3 separate regions of the Homo sapiens genome follow, and regions 2 and 3 are each linked to region 1. Evidence: promoter capture Hi-C in 16 types of primary human blood cells and fetal thymus (Javierre and others, 2016). All regions are on one chromosome and are shown on one strand. Each heading gives the region's core, a stretch centred on a gene start or on the middle of the fragment in contact. The rest is flanking DNA. Distances are from core to core; before and after follow the strand shown. Region 1 holds the start of F2R (coagulation factor II thrombin receptor). Region 2 has its middle 33 kb from the start of IQGAP2. Region 3 overlaps IQGAP2 (IQ motif containing GTPase activating protein 2).

Region 1 (3,532 bases), core at 535-3,034:
CATGAGGATGTAAGAAGCTTGGCAGAAACCAGTACGCTTTGACTTCACTCCCTAATGAGGCTACACACCTTGCTGGGAGGCCACTGTGAGAAAGGGTGCAGCATTTCTATAAGCTCTGTTCTCCACCCCATGATCCAAATCTCAAACAAAACACTGGATTCTCAAGAGCGTGTCCTCAAACTACATTGTGCAAATTACATAATGGTATGTGAAATCATATCTCATCGCAAACAATTTTTCAGGAGTTCTCGGTGTTCTCTCAAACACTTTCGGCAACAATGCTCACTTATCTGCAGGCAGGCTAGTTACTGCTAAACACTGGGCCCCAGTCTGGAGCTCTTAGTTTTCCCAAAAGCATCTCAAAACTCACCCTGAACAAAGACAGAGAGGCGAGAACATGCTATGTCTTTGTCACCTCTTAATCTTGATGTGTCTACACTTTTTTTTGAGTGTGGGAGCAATATAGAGTGCACATTCTTTTAGCGATAACAAGAAAACCCGCTAGAACTTCTTTCAGCGTAAAAAAAATGGCTCAAAGCTTATAAAATACTATTGTTATTAGGAAATTCAAAAACACTTTTCTCACTTTCTAATTAGCGCCTTTACAGGCTAAAAACAACTCATCTGTGCTGCTCTTGGGGAAAGGGATACAGAAAATATTTGACCAAATAAATTAATCAAATTTATTTATTTGGTCAAGTGGCCAGATACTTAAAAATAGACTACTAGTGGGGAAAATATTCTAGGGGAGCAACCTTCTTGCAGTGGATCAGAAATCTCGTTAAGAAATACTGGGATCCCACAGTGTTCGAGGGAGCCCGGTCCTGGGGAGGGATCTCTCTCTTCAACTCACTTAGAAGGAATGGGTTCTAGGTAACAACAAAATCCTCTCCATGTCCCCTCCCCCGCCACCACGCGGAGCCTCTGCTATTGTCACCATATATCTCGCACCCTGCGCACCTCCTGGACACAAGGCCGGGCCGGGGGCTGCTGGTACTGATTCTCTGCTAAACATGCCAAGGGACTGCCTGGGCTTTTCTCTACATCACTTTTCTCGCCTGTAAAATGTGCAAGAAAAAAACTTCCAACAAAGCAAAACTTCAGCGGCAGCGGTTCGCCACTTTATATTTTAAAGATCGAAACGTTTATTGGTGGAGCAACGTGAGAGCTTTTCTTTTTGGGGGTGGTCCTGGGAGAAACACAATGACAAGTGCAACGCAGGACTGCAGGCTCCCCCAGGGGGCTTCCGCTCCATCCTCCTCCATATCCAACACCCCGTGGCAGGCGGGCTGCACCCTCCAAGATCGAGTCCAAAGGGGCATCGGCTGGGCCCGCGAAGGGGGTGGCACGCCCCACCTAAACGTGACTGGAAAAAACTCCAGATCTCAGCCCAAATGCCAGTTTGGCTTTCGGAGGAAACTGAGGCAGGGGTGAGGAGAAGGCGCAACAGTGACCCCCGCAGTCTCCCCTCGGCGTCCCTCCGCCCGCGCACCCCATTCCCGTGCATCTCTCACCTGGCCTGCGGGCCCGGGTGCGGGCAGACAACAGCGGGCCGCACAGACTGAAGCAGGCGGCCACCAGCAGCAGCCGCCGCGGCCCCATTGTCCCGGGCTCTGCGCGGCGCTGCTCCGGGAGGCTGCCCCGCCTCGGGCTGCTCCGCTTCACCCTCTCTCCTGACTTCTGCGGGTCGGGGAGCCGGTCTTCGCGGCAGGCAGAGCGCAGGGTGCCCACGGGTAAGATCAGGGTCCAAGCGACCCTCGGCGAGCGCTGTGTCTGGGGCGGTTAGCGGGGCGGGGCGGGACTGGGGCGCGCGGTCGCGCGGGCGCGAGCGAGGAAGGGCGCCCTCCGGCGTGCAGTGAGAGTCTCTGCGCTGGAGCCGCTCGGCGCCCCCTCCCCGCGGTCCCTCAGCCGCCGCTCGCAAGCCCCTCTGGCTCTGTGCGCCCCGCCCCGCCCCGCCCTGCCCTACTGGGGGGCCCTGGCCGCCGGCCACTGCCGGGCCTAGAAGTCCAAATGAGAAGTTTTTTCCTCTGGGCACCGTTGATTCGCGAAGCTGTCAGTGACTCACACTGGCGGGGTCCTTGGAATGGGGCCGCACGGCTCGCAGGCTGCTTCCCGCGGCCGTCTCGACCCTCCTGGGATGTGGAGACGTCGACAGTGGACGCCCCGGCCAGGATGCGTCCACGCCCTGCAGCCCCGCAGCCCTGGCGTGGCCTCCCGTCCTCCCTCCCTCCGTGTGGGACACCGGCAAAGTTCAGTTTTCGCTAAAAGTCTAAAAGGGACTTCTGCTTTTGTAACGTGGGGATCACGGATTTAAAAGTTTATGATGTAGTGACAGGGTTGCCCCTAAATGAGAAAGGGCCCTTGAGTCTGGACAGAATTCTTGAACTTTTATACGTCTCTCTTTATTTCGCGAAGTTAGGCGTTTCATACGCCGGGCACTCGTTTCCCCCACACGCAGACTGCGAGTGGAATAGGAAGAGCGGCTTCTCCCGCTTCCCCCCCGCGCGGCCTCGCGGAGCTCTTCCCTTTCCCGCGCCGCCCGCCGGGGTCACCTGCGCATCTGGGAGGAGGGCGCGCGTCTGCCGGTGAGGCCGGCGTTCTAGGGCCGCGGGCGCCCAGGAGAGAAATGGCCTGGTAACTTTCCAAGTGTCCTTCACACGTTCTTGAACGATATTACAGTTTGTTTTGTTTTTGAGGCAGGGTCTTGCCCTGTCGCCCAGGCTGGAGTGCAGTGGCGCCAACACGGCTCACTGCAGCCTCGATCTCCCTGGCTCAGGCCACCCTTTCGCCCCAGCCTCCGGATTACCTGGGACCACAGAAAGGCGCGCGCCACCATGTCCGGCTAATTTCACTGCTGGCCTCAAGCGATCCTCCTGCCTCAGCCTCCTAAAGTGCGGGGATTACAGGCGTGAATCACCGCGCCAGGCCTGATATTAAAGGAGTTTGGCTAAATTCAAGGCACAGGGCGGGGACACTCGCTTGGCAGTCTGCTAAGGGCCCCCAGGGGCGTCGCGGCTGGGGGTGGGCAGGAGGAGCCTGCAGCTTAAGTTGCTTTGCCACTGGCTCTGGTGCGTGCGCCTTTCAGACTCCAACAGGAAATGGGTCCCCAAATAGCTGTTTCTAGGAAAGCTCAGCCGCAGCCCCTTCTCCTCTTAACCCAGCGCACTGATGTGCGGGCATATTCGGAGTTCTGTGGTTGATAAGCTGCAGCTGAGAGCCGGTGGTCAGTTTTCTAAGCCTTTTTTAAAAGTGAATTTCGCACGAAGAGTATCATTCCCCCACTAGAGCCCGGACACTTACATCCGTGGAGAAAGTACGATCAGAGGCGATTTCGTTCTTCCCTGTATTCTCCCATCATCCTCAAAGGACAGTACCTTGTTGTACACAGAAGTTGATCACTAAATTGCGGAAGTACCCAGTTAAATAAAGCTTTTTAAAATCTATCCCCGTTCAGTTATCCTCTGGAAACATACCCAAGAGTAAATGTGAACAGTTAAAATTACATAGTTCTTCATTCACTATTAAACTATTT
Region 2 (3,532 bases), core at 680-3,179, 350 kb after region 1:
TTCCCAAGAACATACTTGGAAAGCTTCCCACCTGTCCAGATACAATTTTTCAATATGCTAGTTGTGCTATTATATGTACGTTTTTTTTTTATATTTTATATTTATAAATGTATATTTTTTCTTCATTTGTTTGTTTCATTTTGTTTTTTGAAATAGAGTCTTGCTCTATTGTCCAGGCTGGAGGGCAGTGGCACAAATCAGGGCTCACTGCATTCTCAGCCTCTTGGGCTCAAGCTATCCTCCCACCTTAACCTCTCAAGTAGCTGGGACCACAGGCGCATGTCACCATGCCCAACTAATTTTTTTATTTTTATTATTTTACAGATGGGGTCTCACTATGTTGTTCAGGCTGGTCTCAAACTCCTGGGCTCAAGTAATCCTCCTGTGTTGGCCTCCCAATGTGCTGGGATGACAGGTGTCAGTCACCACACCCTGCCACACATATTGGTTTTCATACACAGTTCCTGGCTCATAACTCCCACAGCCCTTATTACAGTAAAAAGAATATCTCTCTCTCTGGTCTTTCCCTGCCTTCCTTTGACCTCCCCATGGCAGGACCCTAATCTGATTGTGGGTCATGAGACCCTTATTCCAGAGAGGGTCCTGCCCCGTACCCTAGAGGTAGAAATGCTGTACAGAGAGGCCAGGAAGAATCTGAACAGACAGAACAGGACTTGCTGGGTTTAGATCATACCTTTTTTTTTTTTTTTGAGACGGAGTTTCACTCTGCCACCAGGTTGAGTGCAGTGGCATGATCTCAGCTCACTGTAACCTCCGCCTCCTGGGTTCAAGCGATTCTTCTGCCTCAGCCTCCCAAGTAGCTGGGACTACAGGTGTGCACCACCACACACAGCTAATTTTTGTATTTTTAGTACAGACGGGGTTTCACCATGTTGGCCAGGATGGTCTCAATCTCTTGACCTCATGATCTGCCAGCCTCGGCCTCTCAAAGTGCTGGGATTACAGGCGTGAGCCACTGCGCCCGACCAGATCATACCCTTTTTGTCCAATCACATTTGAACCAGGTTATCCATACTTCAATCATGCCTATCCAATGAAGTCTCCATAAATGGCCCAGAAGACAGGGTTCAAGAACTTGGCCCAGAAGACAGGGTTCAAGAACTTCTGGATAAGGCTGGGCATAGTGGCTCACATCTGTAATCCTAGCACTTTGGGAGGCCAAGGAGGGCAGATCACCTGAGGTCAGGAGTTTGAGACCAGCCTGGCCAACATGGTGAAACCTCTTCTCTAATAAAAATACAAAAGTTAGCCAGGTATGGTAGCATACACCTGTAATCCCAGCTACTTGGGAGGCTGAGGCACGAGAATCTCTTGAACCCAGGAGGCGCAGGTTGCAGAGGGCCAAGATCATGCCACTGCACTCCAGCCTGGGTGACAGAGCCAGACTGTCTCAAAAGAAAAAAGAAAAAAAAAAAAGGCCAAGTGTAGTGGCTCACTCCTTTAATCCCAGCACTTTGGGAGGCTGAGGTGGGAGGATCACCTGAGGCTGGGAGTTCGAGACCAGCCTGACCAACATGGAAAAACCCTGTCTCTACTAAAAATACAAAATTAGCTGGGCATGTTGGCAAGTGCCTATAATCCCAGCTAGTCAGGAGGCTGAGGCAGGAGGAATTGCTTGAACTTGGGAGGCGGAGGTTGCAGTGAGCCGAGATCGTGCTATTGCACTTTAGCCTGGGAAATAAGAGCGAAACTCCGTCTCAGAACAAAACAAAACAAAGCAAAACAAAACAAAACAAAACAAAAACCTTCTGGGTAGCCAAACATGTGGAGGTTTCCGGGAGGGTGAACGGTTAAGAAGAACTCATGCAAGGGCCAGGAGAGTGGCCCATCCCAATACCATGAGGACAGAAGTGCCTGCACTCAGACCTTACCCTATGTTTCTCTTCATCTAGTTGTTTATTTGTATCTATTAAAATATCCTTAGGAATAATCTAGTAAATATAAGTAATTGTTTCCTTGAGTTCTGTGAGCTACTCTAGCAAATAAATCGCATCCAAAGACTGGTTTGTTGGAATCCCAACTTGAAGCTGGTCAGTCAGAGGTTCTGGATGCCTGGACTTGTCACTTGTGTCTGAAGAGGGAGTTGAATTTTTGGCACTGAGCCCTTGGTCTGTGGGATCTGATGCTATCTCCAGGTAGACAGTGTCAGAATTGAATTGGAGGGCACCCAGCTGGTGTCTGCTGCGGTATCGATTGCTTGCTTGTGGTGGGGAGAATCCCCCGCATTTCTTTCTTTCTTTCTTTCTTTTTTTTTTTTTTTTTTTTGAGATAGAGTTTCGCTCTTGTTGCCCAGGCTGGAGTGCAATGGTGCGATCTTGGCTCACTGCAACCTCCGCCTCTCGGGTTCAAGCGATTCTCCTGCCTCAGCCTCCTGAGTAGCTGGGATTATAGGTGCGCACCACCATGCCTGGCTAATTTTTTGTATTTTTAGTAGAGACGGGGTTTCACCATGGCCAGGCTGGTCTTGAATTCCTGACCTCAGGTGATCCACCCACCTAAGCCTCCCAGAGTGCTGGGATTACAGGCATGAGACACCGCGCCCAGCCACTCCCCCACATTTCATCACAGAAGTTTTCTGTGTTTATTGTTGTGTGGCGTGACAGCAGAGGAAAACATTTTGTTTTTCCTACCACTAGTGCAATTCCAAAACATCTTACTTTGGTTCTGCCCAACATTGAGATTGTTGGGGGTCATTCATTCTTCTCAAATAAAAAATATTATGCCCAGATAGCATGATAACAAAAGCTCACTCATTCCATAAATGTTTATTAAGTTTCATTAAGTGTCAGGAGCTAGACCAGATATTGAGGAAACAGCAATGACAAGAGAGAAATTCCTGCTTTTATTGAGCCTCAGTCAACAGGAAAGACGGATATTAAACAAACAATTATAAACAGGAGGAATATTTTGAAAGAGGAAGTACAAGGTGTAATAGCAAGGGGCTTATAACAGAGGAAGCTGGATGCAGTGTGGGAGTCTGAGAAAACTTCCTTGAGGAGCAGACATTTCAGCTAGGCCTAGAGGATGTAGAGGGGGTATTCCAGACAGAAAACACCACAGGTCTGTGGGTCTAAAAGAGAAATAGAGAGAGCAAGAGCAAGAGAGATGTTTGAAGAAAATAGAAGTCCTGGCTGGGCGTGGTGGCTCATGCCTATAATCCCAACACTTTGGGAGGCTGAGGTGGGCGGATCACAAGGTCAGGAGTTCGAGACCATCCTGACCAACATGGTGAAACCCCGTCTCTACTAAAAATGCAAAAATTAGCCAGGTGTGGTGGTGGATGCCTGTAATCACAGTCACTCAGGAGGCTGAGGCAGGAGAATCGCTTGAACCTGGGAGGTGGAGGTTGCAGTGAGCCGAGATCACGCCACTGCACTCCAGCCTGGGAATGGAGCAAGACTCTGTCTCAAAAAAAAAAAAAAAAAAAAAAAAAAAAAGAAAACAAAATAGAAGTCCTGAATGGCTGAACTGTAGAGAGTGAGGTGGAATCAGTGAGAGACATCAAATACAA
Region 3 (3,532 bases), core at 709-3,208, 300 kb after region 1:
TAAAACTCAGCATGGTAGCAGACGCCTGTAACCTCGGCTACTCAGGAGGCTGAGGCAGGAGAATCACTTGAACCCGGGAGGCGGAGATTGCAGTAAGCAGAGATCCCGCCACTGTACTCCAGCCTGGGTGACAGAGCAAGACTTCATCTCAAAAATAATTAATTTATTTATTTTAAAACATATGTCACAAAGCTAAGGTAGCATTGCCTTTGAGGTAATGATTAAATGATAAACCCGTTTCAACACTAATAAGACTTCACCAAAGAATTATTCAAATAAGTGGTAAATCCCTCCCCACTGTAGACACACACACACACTTGAACAATTTTCAGAGCAATCTCCCATACCTCACCCTCTTTTGAGACAGGGTAAACATAAACCCACTTTTCAAATGTAGAAAGAAGCTCAGACCAGCCTGGGCAACATGGCAAGACTGTTTCTACAAAAAAAAATTTTTTTTAATTAGCTGGGCATAGCGGTGCATGCCTATGGTCCCATCTACTCAGAAGGCTGAGGTAGGAGGATCACTTGAGCCCAGGAGCTGGAGGCTGCAGTGAGCTGTGATGATGTCACTGCACTCCAGCCTGGGTGATAGAGTAAGATCCCTGTCTCCAAAAATAAAGAAGAGCTCAGGCCGGGTGTGTTGGCTCACACCTGTAATCCCAGGACTTTGGGAAGCCGAGGTGGGCGGATCACGAGGTCAGGAGTTTGAGACCAGCCTGGCCAATATGATGAAACCCTGTCCCTACTAGTAATACAAAAATTAGCCACGCGTGGTGGCATGCGCCTGTAGTCCCAGCTACTTGGGAGGCTGAGGCAGAAGAATCGCTTGAACACGGGAGGCGGAGACTGCAGTGAGCCAAGATCGCGCCACTGCACACTCCAGCCTGGGTGACAGAGTGAGACTCCGTCTCAAAAAAAAAAAAGCTCAAAGAACTTATACCCAATATCACACAGTAAGTGGCACCTCAGTCTAAGTCCTCAGATGCTAGATGCAGGTCTTGCTATCACAGTGCTTCTCGTCTCTCATTGGTCTAAGGTCACGGTACTTCCATGGCTACCTCCATTTTACAGCATAATGCTGGGGCCAGTGGCAGCTTCCAAGATGCTAAACAAGACTAATCTATCTTGTTTTGCCTGTACACTGCTCACAAATGTTTCCCTTCCAATTTGAGTGACGAAAGCAGCAAATGCATTCTCCAGCTGAGAGACACTCCAAAGCTTCCTATTATTTTATACAGGCTGTGATCACATTTGACCCCTGAAGGCATTTGGTCATAAACCCTATGTAAATTCCACCTTATACATGGCATCTAGCACCTCCTGTTGAATGAAGGAATGGTCATGAGTAGTTCACCTCTTCACAGGCTCTTCAGAGTTCACTTTGTGAGTCAAGAGAACACTCCACTTTCGTGTCACAACCTTTATTTCCCCCATGGACACTAGTTGATTCATTACTACCTTTTACAGATCTGCTTCCTACACACTTTCTTTTCACATTTTTTTTTTTTTTTTGAGACAGTTACCCTCTGTTGCCCAGGCTGGAGTGCAGTGGCATGATCTCGGCTCACTGCAACCTCCACCTCCTGGGTTCAAGGGATTCTCTTGCCTAAGCCTCCGGAGTAGCTGGGATTACAGGCACATGCCACCATACCCAGCTAATATTTTTTGTATTTTTAATAGAGACAGGGTTTCACTACATTGGCCAGGTTGGTCTTGAACTCCTGGCCTCCAGTGATCTGCCTGCCTCAGCCTCCCAAAGTGGTGGGATTACAGGTGGGAACCACTGTGCCTGGCCCCTTTCACAAATTATTAACTACAACAGTTTAACAGCTATAGAGTCCTGGGCCTCTTAACATTTCTGTCCCTCATTCTCTATGCATGTACACACATACACACTTGGAAAATTAGATAGCCACTGAATCCTTCCAATAATAACTGATCTATCTTTCAGACTAATTTTCATAAGGCAAAGTTTGTAGCCAAAGAGAACTTTGTATCTTGAGCAGCAAAGGGTAACTTACAATTTTTCCAACTCAACTGTTACAGTCTAACTATAAAAACATGTATAGCTGAAAATTTGAGGAAGAAAAAATATTAATCACAAAATATCTCATTACCTACACAGAATCACTGCTGCCATGTTGACCTATGTACCAGACAGTGGGGATACAGCATTGACCAAAAGATACAGTCCTGATTCCTCATGGATTTTACTGCTGTTCTATTTTGTCCACATTATTCTCAAAACATATTTTTCCAAAACACACATTTGCTTTATTTTTTCAAAGGGTAATACGGCATATGGTGAAAACTATTTCAAATCGCATTCCCACTCCTGCCCCCAGTCCCTCTTCCCAAAGGCAACTTCTAAAAAGATATTATAACCTTCTAGATTATTTGCATAACCTTCTAGAAATATTCACATGTCCACAGGATGAGGATGTCCCTCCCTGTTTGGTTTGTCTTATTTGTCCTGCTTAGCAGAGAAAGGTACACGTTTTCAGAGATATCAAAGCTACAATACAGAAGCACATTATAAGCTCCACTTCTTTCTCAGAGTTCCCCTAATCTAATGTGAAAAGTTACAGGCAGAGTCCAGTGAAGAGGAATAAGCAAGCACAATCCTCCAACCTGTTAACCAATTCAAACTAATAGCAAAGATTAGACTGGAGAACTGAGGAAGGAAGCTTTTGAGACTATCACCAGAATCAGTGCCAAAGCAGGGAAGGGCCTCACGTGACCCTGGTTCTCATGGAGGAAAAAATTATCTTTATATATTCATTTTTTATTTTGTTTTTGTAGAAACAAGGTCTTGCTACGTTGCCCAGATGGTCTTGAACTCCTGGCCTTAAGCAATCCTCCTGCCTTAGCCTCCCAAAGTGCTGGGATTACAGGCTTGAGCCACCATATCCGGCCTTATATATTCTTTACAAATAAATGTATCTTTGTTTCTTTTTGGAAAATAAAACTCATTAGTAGAGAACAGAATGAGAGCAAAAGCATGTTTGTATTAGCTCTATAACTACCATTTCTTGGACAAACTTCCTAAGAGTTCAACATGCAGCGAGGCTCTGGTGGGCTGCCTTACTAGATCTTACCTGAGGAAGCACAGTTTAGGGGGCAGGTGAATGGGGAGTCATATTTCATGAGGCTGACTATGTGACTATCTTACCAGGCTCCTCATCCCACCCTGAGAAGCCTGCTTCGTGTAGGACTGGGGCAAAAAACAGAAAAGTGACAATCTCAAGGACCAAGACTGGCTGATTACAATGGTCCCCTTTTGGGGAGGTGAGGAATAATAGAGGGGTTACTAGCAAACATCTTCTATGAAAAGTACTAGAATTTTTTTAAAAAGTGGGCACGTGAGTTGCGGCCCAGGTTTTCGATTCCTAATGGCTTCAACATTCCAGTTAGTCCTCTCAGCTGAGCTTCACTGAGCTTATGAACACAAAATTTCATTAACTTTGTAGAGGCGGTGAGGCCTGAGGGACGTTAGGTGAACCCAGTGTACCAAGTGTACTTCCTCTTC

What was found. The method cuts DNA at HindIII sites, captures the fragments that hold promoters and counts their contacts. A CHiCAGO score of 5 or more calls a contact.
Region 2: a fragment that was not itself captured here is called in contact with the fragment with the promoter of F2R in region 1 in 1 of 17 cell types (megakaryocytes); the score reaches 5.0 in megakaryocytes.
Region 3: a contact is called between a fragment that was not itself captured here and the fragment with the promoter of F2R in region 1, in 1 of 17 cell types (megakaryocytes). The highest score is 6.2, in megakaryocytes.

Annotation. Positions count from the first base shown.
Region 1 is chr5:76,714,378-76,717,909 of GRCh38, reverse strand. F2R (coagulation factor II thrombin receptor) reads right to left here and starts at 1,784. Exons shown (of 2, transcript NM_001992.5): 1 at 1,515-1,784. The coding sequence starts at 1,602. RefSeq lists a silencer at 1,729-1,978. The HindIII fragment of the contact is 2,891 bases long and covers 541-3,431 here.
Region 2 is chr5:76,368,503-76,372,034 of GRCh38, reverse strand. No RefSeq gene overlaps it. Among named protein-coding and RNA genes, the nearest start is that of IQGAP2, 33 kb to the left of the region's middle. RefSeq lists an enhancer at 1-171. The HindIII fragment of the contact is 3,807 bases long and covers 26-3,532 here.
Region 3 is chr5:76,413,926-76,417,457 of GRCh38, reverse strand. All of the region lies in intron 1 of IQGAP2 (IQ motif containing GTPase activating protein 2), which reads right to left. Among named protein-coding and RNA genes, the nearest start is that of IQGAP2, 12 kb to the right of the region's middle. The HindIII fragment of the contact is 1,469 bases long and covers 1,224-2,692 here.